Regions from separate parts of the Homo sapiens genome. Here all the other regions are linked to region 2. Evidence: promoter capture Hi-C in 16 types of primary human blood cells and fetal thymus (Javierre and others, 2016). All regions are on one chromosome and are shown on one strand. Each heading gives the region's core, a stretch centred on a gene start or on the middle of the fragment in contact. The rest is flanking DNA. Distances are from core to core; before and after follow the strand shown.

Region 1 (3,885 bases), core at 1,061-3,560, 6.1 Mb after region 2:
AGGGGATCAGAGGGCTCTGGCTCATAGTTGGGGTTCAGAGATGCTGAACTGCAATCGCCCCAGGGCGGTGGCAGGAAGCTCAGCTGTGGGGGGACAGGGTTAAGGAGGCTTCCCGGAGAGCGTGAGAGGCCAGCTGGGGAGAGGCCCCTAGACAGGTCTGAGGAGCTGAGGGTTTAGGGTCTGAGGTGGTGTGGGCTTGAAGTAGTAGGTGTGGAGGCACACGGAAGGGTACCTGCTGCTGCTGGCAAGAAACAAAGGTCTGGTAGCCCGGGGACACCCCCAAGCCCAGCTGATCGATGATGGGCGGCTCCTCCTGGCTGTGGATCTGCACTCGGATCCCCACCTCAAACGGGGTCTCCTCTGTCGGGGAGGGACCTGTGAGGCCTGACCTGTGTGGTCAGGTCTCCTGCCCAACCAGACAAGACCTCTCACTGCAGCCCCTCTCCCCAGGACTGGGATGAGCCAGCCCAGCCCCTTTCACAGGTTCTGGGGGAACACCCTGACACCTCCTCTCCTCCTCTCCTTCCCCTAGCCTTTTGCACTCCATCCGTGCCCTCCCCCAGCCTCATTTGTGTGCTCCCTACCATTGTCCCTCCACACAGGTAGATATTCCTCCTGCTGCACGTCCAGCATGATGTCCAGCCCATTGCCCATGCCACCCCTAGTAGTGGTGAGCAGCTCTGCCCCATCAGCGCCAGAGTTAAATGTGTAGCACTTTCCCATCCGGGTGAAGATCTGGGGCGGGCAGACAGGGTGATGGCCATCTCCCCCAGGCAGGCACATGGTCATGGGACCTCTCCCCACCTCATGGTATGTTTGCGTCTCTTCTTTGAATACTGAAGCCCGCATCTCAATGCCCCCAGCCCCACGCTCCAGTGGGCACATGTTGCAGGACGCTCTTGGGAGCCCATCAACTCAGCTCCTCCACCCCGCCAATCCCCACCAAAGCCCAGGGCACAGCCTACAGGTTTTTCTGTGTTTCTCTGGGAACTGCAGGAAAAGGAAATGGGCCCCTGTGGCTGTCCTCCGGGGCTGGCAGTATGTTGAAAAGGCAGAGGGAAAGCAAGCCCCCCCCACCTCCTGGCAGAGATAGGGGTCTTCTGCCCCAGAATGGTCCCACCATGGAGGACCCCCAGCCCCAGGAGCAGGGCCTCCCTGGGCCAGACCTCAGGCCTAGGGCCAGCCGGGGTCAGTGTGGCCTCACATGCTCCCCTCGGGCTGGGAGACAGAGAAAGCCCCAAGGAGGACAGCTTCCTGGGCTGCACGGAGTGGCACTGGGGGGTGGGGAGTCCATGGCTGGTAGGAAGGAAGAGGTCCCCTGGCTTTGGGGGAGCCTGTGCTGGCTAGGGAATTGTGGGTGCTGGGCAGGGACTGGTCGGCTCTCTGGGTCCCTGGCAGGATAGGTAGGGAGGTCAGCTCACCGTGGTGAAGTTCTCAGGCCCACAAGGTTGGCCACGGAAGCGACAGTCCAGCAGCATGTCATCCAGGGAGTGCCCAGCACGGGCATAGAGTTGCGCCATGTCAAAGGTGGGACTGGGCATGAAGCCGGGCGGTGCAGGGGGCCGGCCCAGGGCGCGCAGGAAGGCGGCGTGCTCTGCGGGATCCAGGCCCAGCAGCGCAGACCCAGCCCAGTGCAGGTCGTTGGGCGTTAGGCGCGAGCGGCGCAGTGGGTTGATGTTGCACAGGGTGACAGCCGGGAAGATGAGCCGGTGGCTTTCTCGCTCATCCAGGGCAGTCTGGTGGTGGAACTCCCTGTAGTAGCGCACCCTCTCAGCCACCTGGTAGAGGAAGGTGGCCACTGACAGGACCACGGCCGCTGCCCACATCCCCCGGCGCAGGCTCAGGCTGCCTGGCCCGAAGACGTGGCCCAGCCCGTGCATCGAGCAGTTGCTGGCGAACACGCGGATGTCCGAGGCTGGCCGCCGGGCCTCCTCTGGGCCTGAGGTGGGCTTCATGGCCAGAACCCAGGAGCGGAACCAGCTACAGAGGCTTGGAAGAAGCGAGAGAGAGTCAGTCAGGGGGCTAAGGAGGCTAAGATAGGATTCAGGAGGCCAGGCAAGGAGAGGAGAAGAGAGGGTGGGAGACAGCCAAGGTTGGAAGGCAGGGAGGCACTAGCCTGGCAGGATTGGAGGAGGTGATCTGGCCGGTCAGGTCCCACTGTTCCTTCCCGAGGAACAGGCGGTGGCTCCACTGGGCTAGGCACTGGGCTGGGGACTCCGCAGCAGACCAGGTGGGACGTAGCTGACCGTGGCAGGCAGGGGCTGCGGAGCGGTGCTGAGCCGGCGGTGCTGAGCCGGCGCTGCTGCAGAGGATTGGGTTTCAGCAGTAGGGGGGAAAGGGGGCCGACAGAGCAGTCTGGGGGGTAGGAGAGGTCCCTAGGGCCCCAGGCTGAGCCATTAGTGCAGCATGGAGGGGGGCATGGCTGTCCAAGACGAGAGGCGCCAGGAGGAAACCGCAGTAATCCTAGGGAGAGCTTGAGAAAAGCCCAGAGGTAGATTGGGCCTGGAGATGCCTTGGGGCCCCCTAGGCTCCCAGTTGCAACCCCTGTACACTGGCCGCGAGGGTCAGTCGCTGACCCCTGGCCTAGCTCCTCTCTCCTTTTGCCTCTGCGGCCTTCCCTCTAGCTTCACCCAGGATCTGTTCCTTCACGAATACCAGAGCTGGCTCTTGGCCAAGCTGGGAAATGGTTGGAAGGCTGGCATCAGCAGATCTCTTCTTTCTGTGCCCCTAGCATCTCAGCCTACACTGGATGGCCAGGGCACTCTTCATGTCCCACTTCCAGGGCCCGTCTGTTTCCTAAGTGTCCCTCTCTCCCTAGGGAGTCAAAGCCTACCTCCCCACACTCAGGCCTCTGAGGATGTTGGCCTCTACAATGGTTATGGGCTCACCTGCCACCCCAGGTAGAACATGGGTGCCCCACCTGCCACCCTCCCGGGTACCACGGGTACCCCACCTGCCATCTCAGGCACAACATGGGTATTCTGTGATTTCCCATCTTACGCTGCTATATCCAGGACCTGGAAAACCTACATTTTTCCAAAGGGCTGCATACCACCCATTATGTGCACATACCATAGTTTATTTAATGACTCCCCCACTGATGGGCACTGGGGGTGTCCAGTCTTTCCATTACAAACAATGTTGCCGTATCATCACACAGATGTGAACTCCCAGGACTTTGGTGGGCTTTTTTTGACCATGAGTGGTAGAAACATGGTTCCACCAGCCAAACGTGTGCACACACCATGCTGCAACTGCTGGGCCACCTGTCTGTCCTCCCAACAGGACACAAGCTTCATGGGGGCAGGGACTGTCCTCATTCCCCATCGTGGGCTCAATGGCACATGACAGGTGCTTGATTAATAAACACTTTGGAAGGACTGAGTACCATGGTTACAGCACAGGCGTACCAGCTCCCCAGAGCCACAGTGCCATGCTTTGCAAGTATTTACTGTAGATGATCCCACTCACACTCTCAAAACAGGCATTCAGCATCAAGCACAGCTAGGCTCCCACTCTCCACTGTGGAGCGAAGGCCGAGGCGAGGTTAGGAAGACGGCGCGGCTCCTGCGGTCTAGCTCTTCCAGCTGGACTAGCCAAGGGGTTTCACTGCTTCTCTAGGGGGCGGGTGAAGGGCTGGATTTAAAGAAGCCGCCCAGAAGATATAAATCTGGTGTCAGAGGCATTTTGGGCAGCCTGAGGCTGATGACTGAGTGGGTGAAGCAGGAACCACCTTGGCTGGCTGCCTGGTGAGGGAGGGGTCAGGCCAACAAGCAGGGCCCCAGCAGGGCTTGTGGACTTGCCAGCTGAGGCCCTACTCTGGGCTGCCCTAAGGAGGGGTTTAGCTGTGAACCAGCCCCAGGCTCTGCTCCTGGACCTCCACTG
Region 2 (3,562 bases), core at 1,063-3,562:
GCTGGCTCCCCACCCAGATTCCTTAACCAGGCCAGGGCACCCATGCCCCAGCTGCTGCCAGTTCCTACTAAGGGCTCTTTACTGCCACTCTCTCCCAGAAGAATGGCCCTCGGCTCAGGGTTAGCAGTGCCACACTCCCACCCTCATCCCGGAGGGGCAGCAGCCTGCAGCCACCAACCCCTCTGCCGCAATTAGGGCCAATTGTAGCATGCTCCTGGTGAGATGGGGTTAACGCTAGCCTCCAGCTGAGACGCCTTTTCCTTCCCTACCCAGCTTCCCTCTCGCCCTTCCTCCTCAATTTCACTTGCACAAGGATCTCTTTAGTGTTTGTGAACCTGACTGTATCTTAAGTTATACCTCAATAAAAAGAGTTTTGTTTTTAAAGGGGTGATTCTTTTACACAGCTCGTGCTATCTTCCCTTGAGATTCTGATCAACAGTTAAGAAATCTCACTCCCTCAGAGCAGAGATGCACTCCTTGGTGAAAAGGGACCAACATCCGTGGCCCGTGGGGTGTTCCTGCCTGCAACAGAGGCCGCGCGGCGCTGTGTAAATGGCATGGAGTCTCAGATGGTCTGCCACTAGCTTGCTGTGTGAATGGGCACTCCTTCAAATGTTCTGCAGCTCACCTTCCGAACTTGTAAGCAAGGCGATTTGGCCCTGAGATTCTCTGAAGTCTCTCCTAACTGTAGAAATCCTTTGATCTCATAAAACATTTTCATTAACGTGGAAGACCCTAAGTGCTACCACGACCACCCTTAACTGCACAGTACTTAGTTCTGGAGCACAAGTGACTTCCAAGCAATCACCATCACACGAACCTCAAAGCTGAAAAATTATCAGCACACTTCTCTCCCAACTCTTTACCCAGGTTCCCTTCTAACCTCAGAAACCACCAAACACAGCCCCACAGCACAATCTTAATAACAGCAGTTCCTCCTTGGCCTGCCAGCACCCACTCTGCGTTATGTGCCTACCTGGTGGTTGTGATATACAGAATATACTGATAGACAAGAAAAACTAGGTGAAGCATTTTAAAGAACATTTCAGAAATGATGGGAAGGGGTGGGAAGGGAGGGGCGGGAACAAGACCACACAGTGTTCAACGACTTAGCGGTTCCAGTGAACCAACTGATGCCCGTCTTCAGGGACAGACAGCTAGAAATTCTAGACTAGAACAGAGGCGTCATGGTTTGCCTACCCTTATCCTAAACAATTACCATGCGAACAACTTAATGTCGATCACAACAGATGTAAGTCCGGAGTCTCTCCACAGTTTCCAGGAGGCTGGTGGCAAATAATTGCCCTCGTCTTGGATTCAAACACGTGGCTATTCATGAGACGTTCTGCCTCTACTTTAGAGATTATCGACATCAGCAAATGCGTGCCGTTCACCTTCTACAACCGAAAACGCCCTTCAGGTGGCATTCGAAAAGCAGCCACTCCCTGATGCCATGCGGGAGCGAGCATGGAAAGCGCATTTCTGAAAGGAAACACCCAGAAAGGGTAAGTTCACCTTGGGTGGCACAAAGCGTGCCAGGGTTCACCGGCCTCCTGCATGGAAGGGAGCCACGGCCAGCGCGCCCGGGTCCCGAAGCGCAGTGGACAGGCAAGGCCCCCACGGGCGCGGCCTCGAGTTCCAGCCAGGGAGGCCCCGAGTCCAGTCCTAAGCCCCAGCCAGAGTCCTGGCCCCAAGTCTCGGCTCCGAGTCCAACCCCGAGTCCCGGCCGGAGCGGCCCCGAGATCCGGCGAGGAAGCCCCGAGTCCCCGCCAGGGAGGCCCCGAATCCAGCCCCAAGTCTCGGCCCCGAGTCCAGCCCCGAGTCCAGCCCCGAGTCCCAGCCCCGAGCCCCGGCCGCGCAGGCCCCGAGCCGAGGGCGCCCCGCCAGCCCGGCCCTCACCTTCCTGCTCGCGCCGCCAAGGGACACCTTGGGCCGCGTCTTGAAGTCGCCTTCGAAGCTGAACATCCTGGCAGCCTAGCCCATGTGCGGGCAGCGCCGCCGCGGAAGCAGCCGGGCGGGCGGGGCACGGGGCGGGCTGGGAGGCTCTCGGCGCCCGCCCGCCCGGCCCGGGGCAGCGAGGACGCGGCGGCCGGGAGGCGACCCGAGCCCGCCCCCGGGCTGTACCCTCCCAGCCCTGCCCTGGGGCGGGAGGGGCGGCAATACTGGAGGGGCGGCCCTGCCTCGCCTGCCCCTCATCCACGCCGGCCACAGCTCGGGCCGCTGCAGGGGCGCCCAGCGGGCAGCAAACCCGGCGCTTGCACCTGGAACTGCCGCCTCGGGAGGGAAGATGGCGGTCAGCCGTCAGTGCGTGCGCGGCCCTGCAGACGTGCGCGGCCCTGCAGACGTGCGCGGCCCTGCAGACGTGCGCGGCCCTGCAGACGTGCGCGGCCCTGCAGACGTGCGCGGCCCTGCAGACGTGCGCGGCCCTGCAGACGTGCGCGCCTCCGCCATTGACGGCACGGCGCTCTTCCCGGCGGTTCCGCTAGCGTGCGCGGCCCCGCAAGGCGCGCTGGAGCCTGGGGAGGACGGCGGTGACGCGGGCTGGGCACGCGGCGGAGTGGGCGGGGCCTGGTGCGTGCTGGGGGAGCGCGGCGAGGGGCGCGGGAGGTGTTGGGTGCGGGGCAGGGTGCGGGAAAGGTGGAGTGCGAGGCACGGGCCGGGATGGGGTGCAGGGCAGGGTGCGGGGTGCAGGGTGGGGTGCAGGGGCCGGCACCCGGAGCGGGCTGGGAGCGGCCAATCTGGTGCCAGACTCGAGTGAGGCGGGAAAGGAGCAGCTAGGCCCAGCCCGTCTGTTTACATCCCACCTGTTCTATGTCTATGACACGCACAGACGGACGTAAATATTTACCATGTACACAGACATGCGCAGATTTGCCTCATACATAGCACACATATGCATCTATAGATACAGCATCAATACATATAAATATGTATCATGTACACATACCTGTGTATGCAAAAATATTTGCTCCTGGACTTACCATGGGGCTTTGTCCTGATAAACCCATCGTAAGATGAAAATATTGTAAGTTGAAAATGTATTTAATGCTACAATAAACCCATCACAAAGTCAAAAAATTGTAAGTTGAGCCATTTTAAGTTGGGGACCACCTATACATAAACATGTGTCTTATATCCACACATACGTATACATAATATCTCATATACATGTGCATATACATATATATCATACACGATTGAAACCAATTTCTAAAAATTGATTTTTGGTTGTATACAAGGTGTGCAACATGATGATTTCATAGAGACATTGTGAAATGACTACCCTCTTTGTGTGTGTGTGGTAAGAGTACATAAAATCTACTCTCTTAGCAAAATTTCAACACACAATACGATATCATCTACAGTCGTCCTGCGGCCGAGCACGGTCGCTCACGCCGGTAATCCCAGCACTCTGGGAGGCCAAGGCGGGCGGATCACCTGAAGTGAAAAGTTCGAGACCAGCCTGGCCAACATGGTGAAACCCCATCTCTAATAAAATACAAAACTTAGGCCGGTGTGGTGGTGCACGCCTGTAGTCCAAGCTACTCTGGAGGCTAAGGCA
Region 3 (4,012 bases), core at 243-2,742, 6.1 Mb after region 2:
GGTTCTCCCCTCACCTCTCGCTCCACCTCCAGCCGGGTCTCAGGAACACCTCCCATGAGAGGCTCGGTGACGTGGGGGTCACTCTCAGCCCCCTGACCATGGTGATGCCCCAGCAGGGAGCCCAGGGAGCCAGCTGAGATGTTGCGGGGGAAGGAGAAGTCCTTCTCATCACTTGGGTGGCTGGTGGGGCAGAGGGCAGTGAGGCAAAGGAGGGTCAATGACAAGGGCCAGGGCAGGTGGGCTGAAGTGTCATCCCCAACTGGCCCACAGGGCCTCACCTGTGTTTCAACAGCAGAGCCCGCAGCACGTTGGCCCTGTCCTCGGCCTTGATCTGGTCAGAGATGACCATCTGCTCCACCACCTGGTGGGCCACTCCGGGCAGGGTCTGCTGGTCCAGATCCAAGAGCACAGCCCCTAGCATAAGATGGCACAGAGGGCCCCTCAGCCCCAGGTCACAAAACAGTGGCAGGAGATGGGATGGGGAGCAGGAGCTGGGGACAGGTGGGTGGGTGCCGGGGCTGGAACACCAGCCTACACATGAAGGACGCGGGCTCGAGTTCTGGCTCCCACAGGAGCCTACGTCACATCAACCCTCTGGTTCCTCCCCTCCCCCAGACCCCCAGGAACGTTATGAGGCTCCACAGAGACTACTGAACCTCAGTGACCAGAGAGGCCATCTAGGCCACGCCTGTCAGACACCCCTTCCAGGAAGCATCCGGCCTCCATGGGGACGGTCCAGGCCGCCCACTCTGGCTGAACCCTCTTGGCTGTTAGAAAACTCTCCTCTAAGTGAGCCAGGTGCTGTGTCACTCTAGGGGCCTAGTTCTACCCTGATACACAACTCAGCTGGTCTGCAGCCTCGTCCGTGTGGCCACCCTGGAGCCATCTGAAGACCCCCCTCCGCCCCAAGCTTCTTGACTTCCTTGTCGGCTTCTCAACCTCCCCTCGCCATTGCACACAGAAATAACAGTCCCTTCAAAAGTTACCAGGTCATTCATCTGGCAAGGCCAACTTTCAGGAACAAAGACTAAAGAATAAACAGAACCAAACACCCCTGAGCAGCCAGGCTGGAGACCACAACGCCCAGTGAGAAAGCCCTTCCACGGCGGCCCTTTACCCAAAGACCCTGAGCCTCACTCACGGCCTATGGACTCCTAGTTGGGAAACAATTCTAAAAGCCGGTTTCTAGGTCCTCAGCTGCTTTTTTTTTTTTTTTTTTTGGTGATAAGAGTCTCGCTCTGTCGTTCAGGCTGGAGCGCAATGGCATGATCTTGGCTCACTGCAAGCTCTACCTCCCAGGTTCACACCATTCTCCTGCCTCAGCCTCTCAAGTAGCTGGGACTACAGGCACCTGCCACCGTGCCCCGCTAATTTTTTGTATTTTTAGTAGAGATGGGATTTCACCTTGTTAGCCAGGATGGTCTCAATCTCCTGACCTCGTAATCCACCCACCTCAGCCTCCCAAGGTGCTGGGATTATAGGCATGAGCCACCGCGCCCAGCAGCTGCTTCGTTTACTTTTTTTTTTTTAATTTAATTTTAAGCCAGGCACAGTGGCTCATGCCTGTATTCCCAACATTTTGGGAGGCTGAGGCGGGTAAATCACTTGAGCCCAGGAGTTTGAGACCAGTCTGGGCAACATGGTGAAACCCCATCTCTACTAAAAATAAAACAATTAGGCAGGCATGGTAGCACGCGCCTGTAGTTCCAGCTACTTGGGAGGCTGAGGCAGGAGGATCACTTGAGCATGGGAGGTGGAGGTTGCAGTGAGCCAAGATCACACCACTGTACTCCAGCCTGGGCAACAGAGCAAGATCCTGTCTCGAAAAAAAAAATTAATTTTTTTCCTAGGCTGCCTCAAACCACAGAACCTCAGCTGCTTAGAAACAGGCCTTTTAACAACAACTGAGAGTGGTCACTCATTGGGAAGGAGCAAGCAAGCAAACACAGGGCTTGGAAGTCCTGCATCTGTGGTCGGTGGTCATTTCGTGAGGTCTACACAGCTGCAGATTAGATCACATTCCACAGAATCTCTAAGATGGTACCAAGGCATGCCAGGAATTTCAGAAAGCTTTACATCTAAATAGCTTCTCGAACATTTTCGCAACCAAAACACATCGGCTTCAGTTGTTATCTGAGAATATCAAGAAGCTGCTGGCCGAAAATGCAAATGTGAGCTGGGTGTGGACCATGCTTCCTCTGGGCTCTGGGGCTGTCACACAACGTGGGGCTCAAGACAGATTTGGGGCCATGTGGGAGAATTTCCTGGGGACTGGCCAGGCGGGAGGTGGAGGGGAGCGGGGTTACCATGGGCCAGGGTCCTGCGGAGCTCCAGGAGACTGCGGAAGGAGAGGGAGGCCACGTGGGGCTTCCCCCAGCGCTCAGTCTCCTCCTCCACGTCCTCTTCAAATTTGATCCAGCGAGCTGTCTCCCGCCACTGGGGCTCCTGGTTTTTGTCCAGGAGCAACTCATTCAGCTCCACAAACACCTTGGGGAGAGAAGAGAAGGCATTTCAGGGTACAGAGCCGGAGGCAGCCCTGGGGTGGGTGTCAGAGGTGAGTGGTGTCAGAGGGAGCCAAGTGACCCTGGAGAGCACGAGCACAGTGGGTGGTGCACAGGCGCACCAGTCCCACAGCCAGCTGGGACCCTGGACAACTGACTAACCAATGAGACGCAGTTTCCCTCATCTGTCAAATGGGAATAATACCCACCTCAAAGAACTGTCAGAAGGATGAAAAGGAAAAGCACATGGCACGCTACGTGCCTCAGAGTGAGCACTTGAGAAATGGCCACTGTATATGAAAGCAATGGCGTTTTGCAGGCCTTTTAACAGACGTGAATTATAACCACAATACTCAAATCAACGACATCCACCATGGGGAGTATAATCACAGTGCCCAAGTCAATAAGCTCTAAGATGTGTATACTGCACTCTTGTGCAGTGTACAACCTTCACAACCAAAGGTGGCATCCCTGGGCCCGGCGCGGCAGCTCATGCCTGTAATCCTAGCACTTTGGGAGGCCGAGGCGGGCGGATTCCTAGAGGCTAGGAGTTGGAGACCAGCCTGGCCAACATGGTAAAACTGCATCTCTACTAAAAATACAAAAATTAGCTGGGCGTAGCAGGTGCCTGTAATCCCAGCTACTCAGGAGGCTGAGGCAGGAGAATCGCTTAAACCCAGGAGGCAGAGGTTGCAGTGAGCTGAGATCACACCACTGCACTCCATCCTGGGCAACAGAGCGAGACTGTCTCAAACAACAACAAAACAACAGTGGCAACCCTGAGGCTTGAGATTACAGCTGGTCTGAGAGGTAGGGGCAGGGTCGTGTGGGAAGTTGATGGAAGAGCATGAAGCAGAGCATGGTACCTCATGGGGCTTGTGGGGGGCCCGGGGTCGGGCCCGAGGTGTGGGGCCAGGCTCCCGCCCTTCTCGGCCACTCTGTGTGGAACCTTTGGCATTCTTCCGCACCAAGTGCCGCCGCACCCCAGGAACGTCCTCAAACCGGTGACCTGTGGGGGCAGAGGACCAAGGTTGGGCTCCCCCTTTCTCTCACTCCTTTGCCCACCAGTGCCGGGCTTGGCCAAGGCCCAGCACTTACTCTTCATGAGGTCTAGGTCGGCCGTGGCCAGCGTCTGGGCCTCAATCTCATCCGTGGGGACCCGGGGCAGCAGTGCCTGCTCAGCCCCAGTCATGCTCCCGATGCGCCTCCTCTCCTGAAGGTTGTAGCTGCGGTGCCCAGGCTGGGCTTTGGGCAGGGGGCGCCCCGAGGCACCCCCGTCGTCACCCCCTGCAGTGCCACTGGCCACCGCCACCGCCTCCGCCTCCGCCTCCTCCACCTGGGTTCTAGGCAGACAGAATGGCCGTGAGCCCGAGAAACCTGGCCTCCTCCCCCACGCCCAGCACCCACGCAGGCGGTAGCCAGGGAGGGGACCCACATCGGACTCCAGGCCCTCCTAGCTCCCACTCCCGGGAGGTGCGGGCACGGGGAGGGGGAGGATTCTGGATGCAGAC

The links. Contacts are between HindIII fragments. The CHiCAGO score rates a contact against its expected background, and 5 or more counts as called.
Region 1: a contact is called between the fragment with the promoter of ASIC3 here and the fragment with the promoter of UBE3C in region 2, in 1 of 17 cell types (total B cells). The highest score is 10.4, in total B cells.
Region 3: a contact is called between a fragment that was not itself captured here and the fragment with the promoter of UBE3C in region 2, in 1 of 17 cell types (naive B cells). The highest score is 5.5, in naive B cells.

Annotation. Positions count from the first base shown.
Region 1 is chr7:151,046,956-151,050,840 of GRCh38, reverse strand. It overlaps ASIC3 (acid sensing ion channel subunit 3), which reads right to left and starts at 2,310. Exons shown (of 11, transcript NM_004769.4): 1 at 1,422-2,310; 2 at 585-735; 3 at 233-360; 4 at 1-83. The coding sequence starts at 1,955. ABCB8 (ATP binding cassette subfamily B member 8) reads right to left here. Exons shown (of 16, transcript NM_007188.5): 16 at 3,059-3,885. RefSeq lists an enhancer at 160-798. The HindIII fragment of the contact is 11,911 bases long and covers 1-3,295 here.
Region 2 is chr7:157,137,676-157,141,237 of GRCh38, reverse strand. It overlaps UBE3C (ubiquitin protein ligase E3C), which reads right to left and starts at 2,312. Exons shown (of 23, transcript NM_014671.3): 1 at 1,900-2,312. The coding sequence starts at 1,965. RefSeq lists silencers at 1,681-1,750, 1,801-2,190, 2,471-2,820. The HindIII fragment of the contact is 7,086 bases long and covers 1-3,562 here.
Region 3 is chr7:151,066,349-151,070,360 of GRCh38, reverse strand. It overlaps SLC4A2 (solute carrier family 4 member 2), which reads right to left. Exons shown (of 23, transcript NM_003040.4): 6 at 3,600-3,844; 7 at 3,368-3,510; 8 at 2,307-2,487; 9 at 279-414; 10 at 15-180. Among named protein-coding and RNA genes, the nearest start is that of SLC4A2, 8.8 kb to the right of the region's middle. RefSeq lists an enhancer at 75-575. The HindIII fragment of the contact is 1,160 bases long and covers 913-2,072 here.